Regions from separate parts of the Homo sapiens genome. Here regions 1, 2 and 4 are each linked to region 3. The links are contacts of gene promoters, found by promoter capture Hi-C in blood cells and fetal thymus (Javierre and others, 2016). All regions are on one chromosome and are shown on one strand. The core of a region is centred on a gene start or on the middle of the fragment in contact, and the rest is flanking DNA. Distances in the headings are between cores, read along the strand shown. Region 1 overlaps LOC102723576 (a long non-coding RNA gene). Region 2 has its middle 2.1 kb from the start of C4orf17. Region 3 holds the start of ADH5 (alcohol dehydrogenase 5 (class III), chi polypeptide). Region 4 has its middle 24 kb from the start of ADH7.

Region 1 (2,700 bases), core at 52-2,551, 310 kb before region 3:
ACCTACCATCCCCACTTCCCCTGATCCGCCCATTACCCTTCTCAGCATCTGGTAGCCATCTTTCTACTCTATCTCCATGAATTCAATTGTTTTAATTTTTAGCTCCCACAAATAAGTGAAAACATGTGAAGTTTGGGTCTTTCGGTGACTGGCTTATTTCACTTTACATAATGATGTCCAGTTCCATCAGTGTTGTTGCAAATGACAGGATCTCATTTTTTATGGCTGAACAGTACCCCATTGTGTATATGTACCACAGTTTCTTTCTTTTCTTTTTTTTTTCTTAAAAGATGGGGTCTTGCTTTGTCACCCAGGCTGGAGTACAGTGGTGTGATCATGGCTCACTGCCACCTTGAACTCCCAGGCTCAAGGGATCCTACTGCCTCAGCATCCTGAGTAGCTGGGTCTAGAGATGTGAGCCACCATGCCTGGGTAATTAAACAACAAAAACAAAAACAAAAATGTAGAGATGGGGCCTTGCCATCTTGCCCACATTGGTCTCAAACTCCTGGACTCAAGCAGTTCTCCTGCCTTTGCCTCCCAAAGTGGTAAGATAAAAGGCATGAGCCACCACACCCAGCCTCACATTTTCTTTATCCATTCATTTGTTGATGGACACTTGGGTTGCTTCCAAATCTTGGCCACTGTGAAGAGTACCACAACAAACATGGGAATGCACATATCTCTTTGATATCCTGATTTCTTTTATTTTGGGTGTATACACAACAGTGAGACTGCTGGATCATATGGCAACTCTATTTTTAGTTTGTTTAGGAACCGACAAACTGTTCTGCTTAGGAGTTGTACTAATTTACATCCCCACTAACAGTTTACAAGGGTTCCCTTTTCTTCACATCCTTGCTAGAATTTGTTATTTCCTGCCTTTGAATAAAGCCATTTTAACTGGAGAGGGCATCTCCTTGAGGTTTTGATTTGCATTTATCTTATGATGAATGATGTTAAGCACCTTTTCATATAGCTGATTGCCATCTGTATGTCTTCTTTTGAGATATGTCTACTCAGACCTTTTGCCCATGTTTTAATTGGATTATTAAATTTTTTCCTATAGAATTGTTTGAGCTCCTCATTTATTCTGGTTATTAATCTCTTGTCAGATGGGTAGATTGCAAATATTTTCTCTCACTCTGTGGATTGACTCTTCATTTTGTTGATTGTTTCTTTTGCTGTGCAGAAGCTTTTTACCTTTTGTGTTCCCATTTGTCTGTTTTTGCTTTGGTTGCCTGTGCTTGTGGGGTATTACTCAAGAAATCTTTGCCCACTCCAACGTCTTGGAGACTTTCCTGAAAGTTTTCATTTAGTAATTCCATAATTTGAGGCCTTAGATTTACGTATTTAATACATTTTGATTTTATTTTTGTATATAGTCAGAGATAGGGGTCAAGCTTTATTCTTTTGCATATGGATATCCATTTTTCCCAGAACTATTTATTGAAGAAACTCTCCTTTCCCCAATGTATGATATTGGTGGCTTCATCAAAAATTAGTTCACTCTAGATGTATGAATTTGTTTCTGAGTTCTCTATGCTGTTCCATTGGTCTTTTTGTTTGTTTTTATGGCAGTACCATGCTGTTTTGCTTATTATAGCTCTGTGCTATAATTTAAAGTCAGGTAATGTGATTCCTTCACTTCTTTAGCTTAGGATAGCTTTGGCTATTCTGGGGCTTCTGTGGTTCAATATAAATTTCAGGATTGTTTTTTCCATTTCTGTGAAGAATGTCTGGTATTTTGATAGGGATTGCACTGAATCTGTAGACTGCTTTGGGTAGTATGAACATTTTAACAATATTGATTCTTCCAATGCATGAACATGAAATGTCTTTTCATTTTTTTGTAGCATCTTCAATTTCTTGCATCAGTGTTTTATACTTTTCATTGTAGAGATCTTTCACTTCTTTGGTTAATTCCTTGGTATTTTATTTTATTTTATTTGTTGCTTTTGTAAATAAGATTACTTTCTTGATTTCTGTTTCAGATTGTTTGCTGTTGGTGTATAGAAATGCTACTGATTTTGTATGTTTATTTTGTATCCTGAAACTTTACTGAATTTGTTTATCAGTTCTAATAGTTTCTTTGTTGGAGCCTTTAGGCTTTTCCAAATATAAGATCATATTATGGGCAAACAAGGATAAATTTGAATTCTTCCTTTCAATTTGATGCCCTTTCTTTCTTTCTTTTGTCTGATTACTCTAGCTAGGATTTCAGTACTATGTTGAATAATGGTGGTAAAAATGGGCAGCTTTATCATGTTCCTGACCTTAGAGGAAAGGCTTTCAGCTTTTCTCCATTCAGTAGGATACTAGCTATGGGTCTGTCGTATATAGCTTTTATTATGTTGAGGTACATTCCTTCTATGCCCAGTTTTTTCAGGATTTTCAACATCTCATGATGCAATATTGAATTTTATCAATGCTTTTTCAGCTTCCATGGAAACGATCATATGATTTTTGTCCTTCATTCTGTTGATATGATGTATCACATTGATTGATTTGCATATGTTGAACCATCCTTGAAGCTATGGGACAAATCTCACTTGATCATGATGAATGACCTTGTTAATGTGTTTCTGAATTCTGTTTGCTAGTATTTTGGTGATAATTTTTGCATCCGTATTCATCAGAGATATTGGCCTGTAGTTTTCTTTTTTCAATGTGTCTTTGCCTGTTTTCGGTATAAAGTAT
Region 2 (2,700 bases), core at 34-2,533, 420 kb before region 3:
TAATAACAGAGATCAGAAATAGTGTTCTAAGTAAGATAGATGTGTATTTCTTCCTCACATGGAAGAGTTCAACCATCTAGGGTTGGTATGGAAGCTTTATGAAGCATCATTATGGACCTTGGCTTCATCTATGTTTTAGGTCCATCTTTCTTAATATTAGGCTTCCATTTTTGAAATTATCCCTTGTTCAAGATGGTTCCTGAAGTTCCAGTCATCCAAGATGGCTGCTATATTTGCACATATCAAATCTGTACTCCAAGCAGGAAACAAGAGGAAGGTTGGGGAGGTAAGGGCTGACAAGGGCACATGCTAGCTATCTGCTCTCTTTGTAAGAGCCTTCTCATGAGTCTCAGACAATAATCTATGTTGCATTGATGATTTATAGCTACAAGAAAGGATAGAAAATGTAGTTTCTTAACAGGGCACATTGACACCCCATTCTAAAACAGGGGCTCTAACAAGAGAGGGAGAAAGTATAAATCGGGTTATAAAAAGCAATCTCAACCACAGATCCTGACATTAATACCTAACTCTGGGTAGGAGAAGTCTACACTCTGTGTGCTGTGCTTTCCCTTAGAGAGGGTCACTAGAGATAAACATGTACTTGGCTATGTAACTATGTTATTTTCCATTTATGAAGCCCCATGGGGAATTTTCCTGTCTCATTACTAGGAAAAAAATGATACAACTGGCTTGTTTGCATTAATTTTGTCAGAATCAAAAAGACAGAGGTTGCTCTGCTGCACTGCTCAGGGTAGCACAGGTATCCTTGTTGCCTTGGATACTCTATTATTTTAGCAAAGAAAACAGATGGAAAGTTTTTTTGGAATATGTGCATATATTTATGAATGGTAATTAGTGATTTTTAAACTTATCTGGGGTCATGATAAGCAGGAAATCCACAGGTTTTTCATTGCCCACAGATATTTTGAAAATTGTTATGGACTGAGTTGTGTCCCCCAACAAATTCGTATCTTAATCTCTAACCCCCAATGTGACTGTATTTACAGATGGGGCCCTCAAGGAGATGATTAAGTTTAAATAAGATTATAAGGGTTGGACCCTAATCTTATAGGACTGGTGTTCTTACATGAAAAGGAAGAAACACCAGAGCCCTCTCTGTCTCCTTGCATGAGCTGGCCATGTTAGGACAAAGGAAGAAGGGGACATCTATCACCAGAAAGTGGCCCCTCAGCAGACATTCAATCTGCCAGTGCCTTGTTCTTAACCTTACCAGCTTCCATAACTGTAAGAAATAAGTTTCTATTGTTTCTAAGCTGCCCAGTCTAGGGTATTTTGTTATAGCAGCCCAATTTGACTAAGACAAGGCTTCACCAAAAACTAAGCCTGCCAGTACCTTGATCTTGGACATTCAGCCTCCAGAACTTTGAACATATAAATTTCTGTTGTTGAAGCCACTCAGTCTGTTGTATTCTGTGATGGCAGCACAAGCTGATTGATACAAGTGTAAATATGCAGGATACTCTGTAAGCTCTGTTCTCTCCATGAATAAGCAGTGTGGCCACATCTCAAAGCTGTGAACTAGTTAGGCCTATTCATTTTGATCACCTAAAATCCTCACTTTGCATTTACTATAAAAATGCCACAGGTGTCTGATTAACATATGAGAAAGCAATGTAAGTGATTTCGGAAAGGAAAAGATGCTAATTTAACATAATGGAAGAATAAAATTTAATTTCGTCTGGTGCCTTGACCACCCTATATTCTGTTCTGTCAATTTTGAAAGCATATGTTTCAGTCTCGAATTTGTAACAAATATCTACAATCACAGAAAATGGTGCTTTTCACTCTGTGATCTCCAGAGTACAACAAAAATGCTGACATAAGTGTCATAGAAAGAATTCTACAATGGCTGCCAAGATTTCCTCCCCATGGTGTACATACTCTGTGTTATCGCCTTCTCTTGAGTGTGGGTAGACCTGTTAATATGATAAATATCACTCCTGCAATTAGTTTGCATTTTCTGGCAAAGATGAAGAGATTTTACAGATATAAAGTCCCTAATCAGAATGACTTTGAGTTTATCAATCTCTGTTAATCAAAAGGAGATTATTTTGGTCTGTCCCAAACTAATCAGATAAGCCCTTTAAAAGAAGATTTAGGCCTTCCCCACTATCAGAGATGCTCCCTTGCTTACTTTAAAAAAGCAAGGCATTACAAGTTCTCAAGCTGGGAGGAAATGAACCTGCAAACAACCATGAGAGCTTGGGAGAAGACCTCAGAAGAAGACCCAAGCCACAGCACATATCTTGATTGCAGCCTTTTGACAGTTCTCACCCAGCCTTTTCCAAAGACTTCCTGTTAGTCATACCTTCCTCTAAGAATATGAGTAACTCAAAACTTCAAAAGAATTAAAAAGAAGCTCTTCAAAAAAGGTGAATACACCCTTAGAGTTCTCTTCATGGGGCAAAATCTGGGTTCACATTGGATAGATAGAAAATATAAAGCTTCAGGCCAGGCATGGTGGCTTATACCTGTAATCTCAGTGTTTTGGAAGACTGAGGTGGGAGGATTATTTGAAGCCAGGAGGTCAAGAGCAGCCTGAGCAACATAGCAAGACCCTGTCACTACAATAAAATTTTTAAAAAAGAAAATATAGTTTCCTGTTAGAAGAGCACTGTAGCAAAACTCCTAAGCCCGGTTGCTTACCTTGTTATTGTCCAGTCATAACCAACCCCA
Region 3 (2,700 bases), core at 71-2,570:
AGTCCCTATAAGGAGAAAATATTAATAGGAGTTTTAGGAGTTGCATTCGATTGTGAGATATCCTAATGGAGACAGAAATCCAGTAGGCAGTTACATGTCCAAGTCTGGAGTTTAGGGGAGCCATCCTGATTGGAGATAATAATCTGGTAGTCATCTTTCCATAAATAGACGTTAAAAGCCAAAGTGTGAGTGAGAGAGTGGAGTGAAAGGACGGAAAGACTTTGGACAATCTTACCATATGTACCCGGAAAAGAGCCAAGAAAAAGACTGAAAGACAGAAAAGAGCAGTGTGTCTGACAGAGCTATTTTAACAAAATTCAGCGTTTACAACAGAGTTTAAGAGTAAACTGGCAGGCCAGGTGCGGTGGCTCATGCCCGTAATCCCAGCACTTTGGGAGGCTGAGGTGGGTGAATCACTTGAGGTTAGGAGTTCAAGACCAGACTGGCATACATGGTGAGACCAACCCCCTGCCCCCACTCCCAATCTCTACTAAAAATACAAAATTGAGCCAGCGTGGTGGCGTGTGCCTGTGATCCCAACTACTCAGGAGGCTGAGGCACGAGAATCACTTGAACCTAGGAGGCGGAGGTTGCAGTGACCCGAGATCGCGCCACTGCACTCCAGCCTGGGCGACAGTGCGAGACTCCGTCTCAAACAAACAAAGAAAGAGTAAACCGACAAATACTACATTCTCTCTCTCTACACTCTGGCCCACTCTTAACACAAAAAACTGTCCAGGATCAGGAGACTTTTTGTTCTCCTCATCTCCTCCTTCCAAAGTTCTCTGCCCACGTTCTACTGTCTCCCCAAAATCCTACCTACCCTTCAGGAACTGCTGGAATGGGAGCTTGGGAAGTTTCAGCAAACTCCTCTCTCCTCCTTTGTGGCCCCTTTATTCCCAAAGCTGTGTCCTCTCCCTATGACGAGTCCCTTGAGGGGCTGTATCTTACTCCTTGTGTCTCCAAGCACACATAATGTGTATTAGGGGAGGAAGCATTCGCCAGTGGAGCACAAAGCTGTTGCAGGTCTCTTACTGGTTCTCAGGCGCTTTCAGTGAAATTCCCGTTCCCTCACCGTCCACATCTGTAATTTGCAAGTCTTATCTACGATAACTGCTGTAAAGTTACACGGGGAAGCCCTTTCCCGACAAAAAAAACGAGTTCTGCAACAAGTCCGTCGGATTTTAGCAATGAAACCGGCGCCGTGCAGCCTCGCCGGCGAGTGCACCCTGGAACGCACAACTTAGCGGCACGCACCACAGCTCGAGCACCGCCCTTCCGGTTGGAGCCATTGCAAGCCCCCCCCACGCCCCGCCCCCCTCGCTAGGCGCTCGCCACGCCCATGCCTCCGTCGCTGCGCGGCCCACCCCGGATGTCAGCCCCCCGCGCCGACCAGAATCCGTGAACATGGCGAACGAGGTAGGGCCCGTTGAGCGGAGGGCCCTGAGTCCAAGGGAGGGAGTGCATGGCATGGGACTAGGCTGCTATCCTCGGGGGCGCGCGAGGCTCGGCGCCCAAGACGGGATCTGGCTCTTGGTTCTGAAACTGGGCCCCCAGCGAGCGGCTCAGAGGGGCAGAAAGAGAAGGAAGCTTTGTCTCGGCTCTTCAGTTGGGAAGCAGCTTTCTTTGCTGCTTCTGGGACAGTCGGAACGGGGTGGGGGGGTGGGAGAGCCGGAGAGTGGGGGGCAGGGGCTGGTCAGGTCGGTATCCCAGTGGAAATGGCTTAGGAGCGGCCACGCATTGCTTCTTACACGAAATTAAGTAACTCGCTCTGGGTCATTCTTGCAGCTTGCATACTTGGCAGAGCTGCAGCCAGATCCCGTGCTTCTAACTCCTAGGTTGCTTGTGTTGCATAATTGAGCCTACGCCTTAATTATTGTGCCTCCAAGGAGTGTATTTTGGAAAGACCCCTACGTCCCTTTCAGAAACATTTTCGAGCACTTAAATACCAAGAGATTTATATTCCCTCTAGTCCTCACGTAACAAACACCTCTGCGAGGTGTTATCCCCATCTTACCAAAAACTGAGGTTTGAGGTTGGTTGTGCTTGGTCACACCAACGATGGCGAGCTGGGATTCCGACCCAGGTCTGCTCCTCTATGACAAATTCATAAAATACAAATTAGACAGTAAAGAAAGGCAGAAATTACGAATAACATACTCAGTCTAAAGTTGCTGATTATTTTAATGTTTTGCAATTTTGGACATTTTCTAGTAAGACAAATGGCCTTAAACATATTGGAGTTTGAAAGAAATAAACTCTAAACAGTCTTTCAGACTTAAACTGGTAGTTGCTTTTCCTTATTACTGAGTGTCTTTATTCAGAGAAGGTGAAAGATTATAATTGTTACTATAGTTCAAATGTTGAAGTAGGGCCATTTCCCGCGGATTTAGAGTGGGGCTTTGTTTTGCTTAGAATTGTCAGTAAAAGGAAAAGGTTAGGCTCCATTAAGACATTTTTTAAAGGGGAGCAGGCCATCAAATTTAGTATTCTTGTTTCTTTGGATTCCTATGTTGCATAACTTAATTGTTAGTATTCTGAATCTGACTTGTGGAGTTGAAATTTATGGCACATTGAAATGAAAAAGGTTCTAATGCAGTGTCTGATTCTTTGTACTATGAGATTTAATATCTGCAATTTAATTTTAAAAACGATCATTTCCACATTTCCAACCTCACCAATTTACAGAGGCCATTTCCC
Region 4 (2,700 bases), core at 62-2,561, 370 kb before region 3:
TATATCAGAATATATATTCTATATATAATCTTTAGGTACTTTGGTTGAAAAATGAAAGGTATTACCCTCCAAAATAATGATTAGCAATCACAAATAAAACTGTCCTAGTAAGTACCTATTACAGTGTGCACTTTAACTTCATTATGTTATTCTACATTTATAATACCTCTTTAAGACATGCCTTATTTACTGGGTCTCTGAAAAATGCAGTACCTTTTTCAAGGTACATAGTTAGTACCTGGTCAAGCTTAGATTCTAACTCCAAAACCTGTTTTCTTTTCACCATGAAACACTGAAAATGAACCAAACTGAAAATGACTAAGCAAATAATTTTATCTAGAAAGACCTAAAAGAGTAAGAAGAAAAAATATAGTTAATATTTTTAGATAAATCATTTTTATAACATGATAATTCAAAGTATTAAAAACATTGATGTTTCTCAGTCTTCTCTCATTTTTCTCTTTAAAAGGAACTACTCCAATATGATAGTGCACTCAAAATAAGTTAATAATTGGCCTGTCTTGCTGAATCAATTTAGACTTACCTAATTTGTTTTGTTGACTTTCACTCCTCCACTGGGGTGGATGGAGAAAGCTACATTTACACAGGGCTATGTTTTAACATAAACTGAGGTGGGGTTCCTGAAGCTGGGCTCTCCAAAGGAACAGAATAGGCAGCATATAGTGCAACCATGGTATGACTGCCTCAGACTGACTCGATGCCTTTCTCAAAGTCCCAATAATAGAATCAATCTTTAGCTGGCACATTTCCTAGCGTGGTGCCATTTTAATCCATGAGCCCAAATTCGTTGGTCAGATGGGTTGGCGAGCTCTCTCCTCACACGGAGCAAAACAAGAACAGAAGGAGGGATATAAGTCAGGGGAGAGGATATAAGAAAGACCTGGATCTCAAAACATTTCAAGGAGGGAGCTCTACTTTTGAGACCCTGTGTTGTGTGAGGCAATCTAGCGGGCAGACAAGGCAGAAACCAAGGAAACAGGAGATTCATGACTAAACATGCATAATTATATATGGCACTAGCCACAGGCAAGAGTCATTCTGTGAGCTCACCTGTTCCCAAGCCCATCCCAGATTCCAGTGCTCTTGCCTCTGAATTAATACAATACTCCTTGTTTGATTAATTAATGTTAGCTGCTTATCGTCTTACGAAACTTTTCATAGGACAATGTCTTATGTTTTCTGCCCTACTGTAATGTGTCTTTTATGTTGCACATACTACAATGTTGCGCCACTGTTAGGATAATCGGTAGCTAAATGAATGAGTGGAATGAAGGAATGATAGTTAAGAATCTTTGCAGACTAGGGCAGAGACAGGAAGGTGTTGGGGGAGTCTGAAACAGGAATCAGGTTTCACCTCACAGCGTTCCTTAGGAATGATTGTTCATTCAGACAACTCCAATTTCCTGGTTTTCTTCTTTTGGTTAAAATGTGTACACCTCTTCTCTCAGAGTCTGTTCCCTGGAAGCAGCTCATCTTCCTCGGCGGCTGTCCTTTACCCCAAGGCTGTCCTCACCTCCTGTGCTCCTCGGCCATGCCAAGAGTCTCCAGGCCTCTGCTCCTTTATTTTTCCAGCTGTGGGGGGAAATTACCTTTTGTGAAAAGTAATACATAGAAACAAATAAGAAACAGTAAAATCATTTAATATATTGATTATTTCTTCTTGTGATGACTTACTGGATTAGAAAAAGAAATACAATGTATACTTTATTTCCAAGAAAAAGTTTCTGCATTTAAATATCCTAAGAATTCGAGTCCGTACAGGATTTGGAATCCAGATTTGTGACTGTTATAGAAGAGAAGGTTACATACGTGGTTTTCAAAATTGCTTTAGCCATAAAATTCTTACCATTCTTCCCTTGTGCTGTCCCTGAGGGAATCAATAAAGAACATGTGAAATCTGTTTCTAGATGATTGGAAAAGGTAGAACTCCAGACAGTGCCAGTTAGTGGGGTGCTAAGTTAGTTGGCTATCAGGCTGAGGAGATATGGAATCACTGGCTGTTAGATTTAAGTCAGTATTATGATACACATTGGTGGGGGATAATCTATTAATAGTTAGAAATATTGGTCTTGATAAAGTCTGGATTCAGATTCCACTGCTGCTTAGCTGTGTGATATTGGATTAGTTACTTAACCTCGCAACCCTTCAATTTACTTATCTGTGATATGGGAATACTAATATCAACCACTTCATAAAGTTATTTCATAAAAATGAAACGATATAATGCATGTAAAGCTCTTAGCCCTGCATCTGGCACATGGTAAACATTCAATAAATATTAGCTAACATTTGTGTAATCATATCTCTTAACAGCTTGAATTGATTTTCATTTATGCATAGTGCAGAAAGCTTATTGTCCAATACAACTCCAAACTACTTTTGATGACTTTAGTTGAAGTCCACCAGGGAGACACCTGAAATCAAAGAAAGATTTGGGTTTATTTGCTTGTTGTAACAAGAGACAACATGCCTTTGGGAACTGTAAGGTATCTCATAAGAGGATGCCAGAAAGAAGTTATTATAAGAGTTGTGCTTGTGTTAGATGAGTCTGCAAAGGGTTTAAGGAAGTGGAGCTTTGCCTGGGATTGGATGCTGTCAGGAAGCAGGGGCAATTCTATGATTGGGCATTTTAATAGCATTTATCAAGAAGGCAAGAGTAATAAAGTGGAAATGAACCTG

The links. The method cuts DNA at HindIII sites, captures the fragments that hold promoters and counts their contacts. A CHiCAGO score of 5 or more calls a contact.
Region 1: a contact is called between a fragment that was not itself captured here and the fragment with the promoter of ADH5 in region 3, in 1 of 17 cell types (megakaryocytes). The highest score is 5.8, in megakaryocytes.
Region 2: a fragment that was not itself captured here is called in contact with the fragment with the promoter of ADH5 in region 3 in 2 of 17 cell types (activated CD4 T cells and non-activated CD4 T cells); the score reaches 5.6 in activated CD4 T cells.
Region 4: a contact is called between a fragment that was not itself captured here and the fragment with the promoter of ADH5 in region 3, in 1 of 17 cell types (M0 macrophages). The highest score is 5.2, in M0 macrophages.

What each region holds. Positions count from the first base shown.
Region 1 is chr4:99,397,235-99,399,934 of GRCh38, reverse strand. The region is part of intron 3 of LOC102723576 (a long non-coding RNA gene); the gene reads left to right. Among named protein-coding and RNA genes, the nearest start is that of ADH7, 37 kb to the left of the region's middle. The HindIII fragment of the contact is 208 bases long and covers 1,198-1,405 here.
Region 2 is chr4:99,507,549-99,510,248 of GRCh38, reverse strand. No RefSeq gene overlaps it. Among named protein-coding and RNA genes, the nearest start is that of C4orf17, 2.1 kb to the left of the region's middle. The HindIII fragment of the contact is 2,374 bases long and covers 97-2,470 here.
Region 3 is chr4:99,087,408-99,090,107 of GRCh38, reverse strand. It overlaps ADH5 (alcohol dehydrogenase 5 (class III), chi polypeptide), which reads left to right and starts at 1,320. Exons shown (of 9, transcript NM_000671.4): 1 at 1,320-1,419. The coding sequence starts at 1,408. LOC100507053 (a long non-coding RNA gene) reads right to left here and starts at 1,251. Exons shown (of 10, transcript NR_037884.1): 1 at 824-1,251. RefSeq lists a silencer at 1,288-1,337 and a promoter at 122-1,375. The HindIII fragment of the contact is 7,789 bases long and covers 1-1,592 here.
Region 4 is chr4:99,457,698-99,460,397 of GRCh38, reverse strand. No RefSeq gene overlaps it. Among named protein-coding and RNA genes, the nearest start is that of ADH7, 24 kb to the right of the region's middle. The HindIII fragment of the contact is 2,123 bases long and covers 250-2,372 here.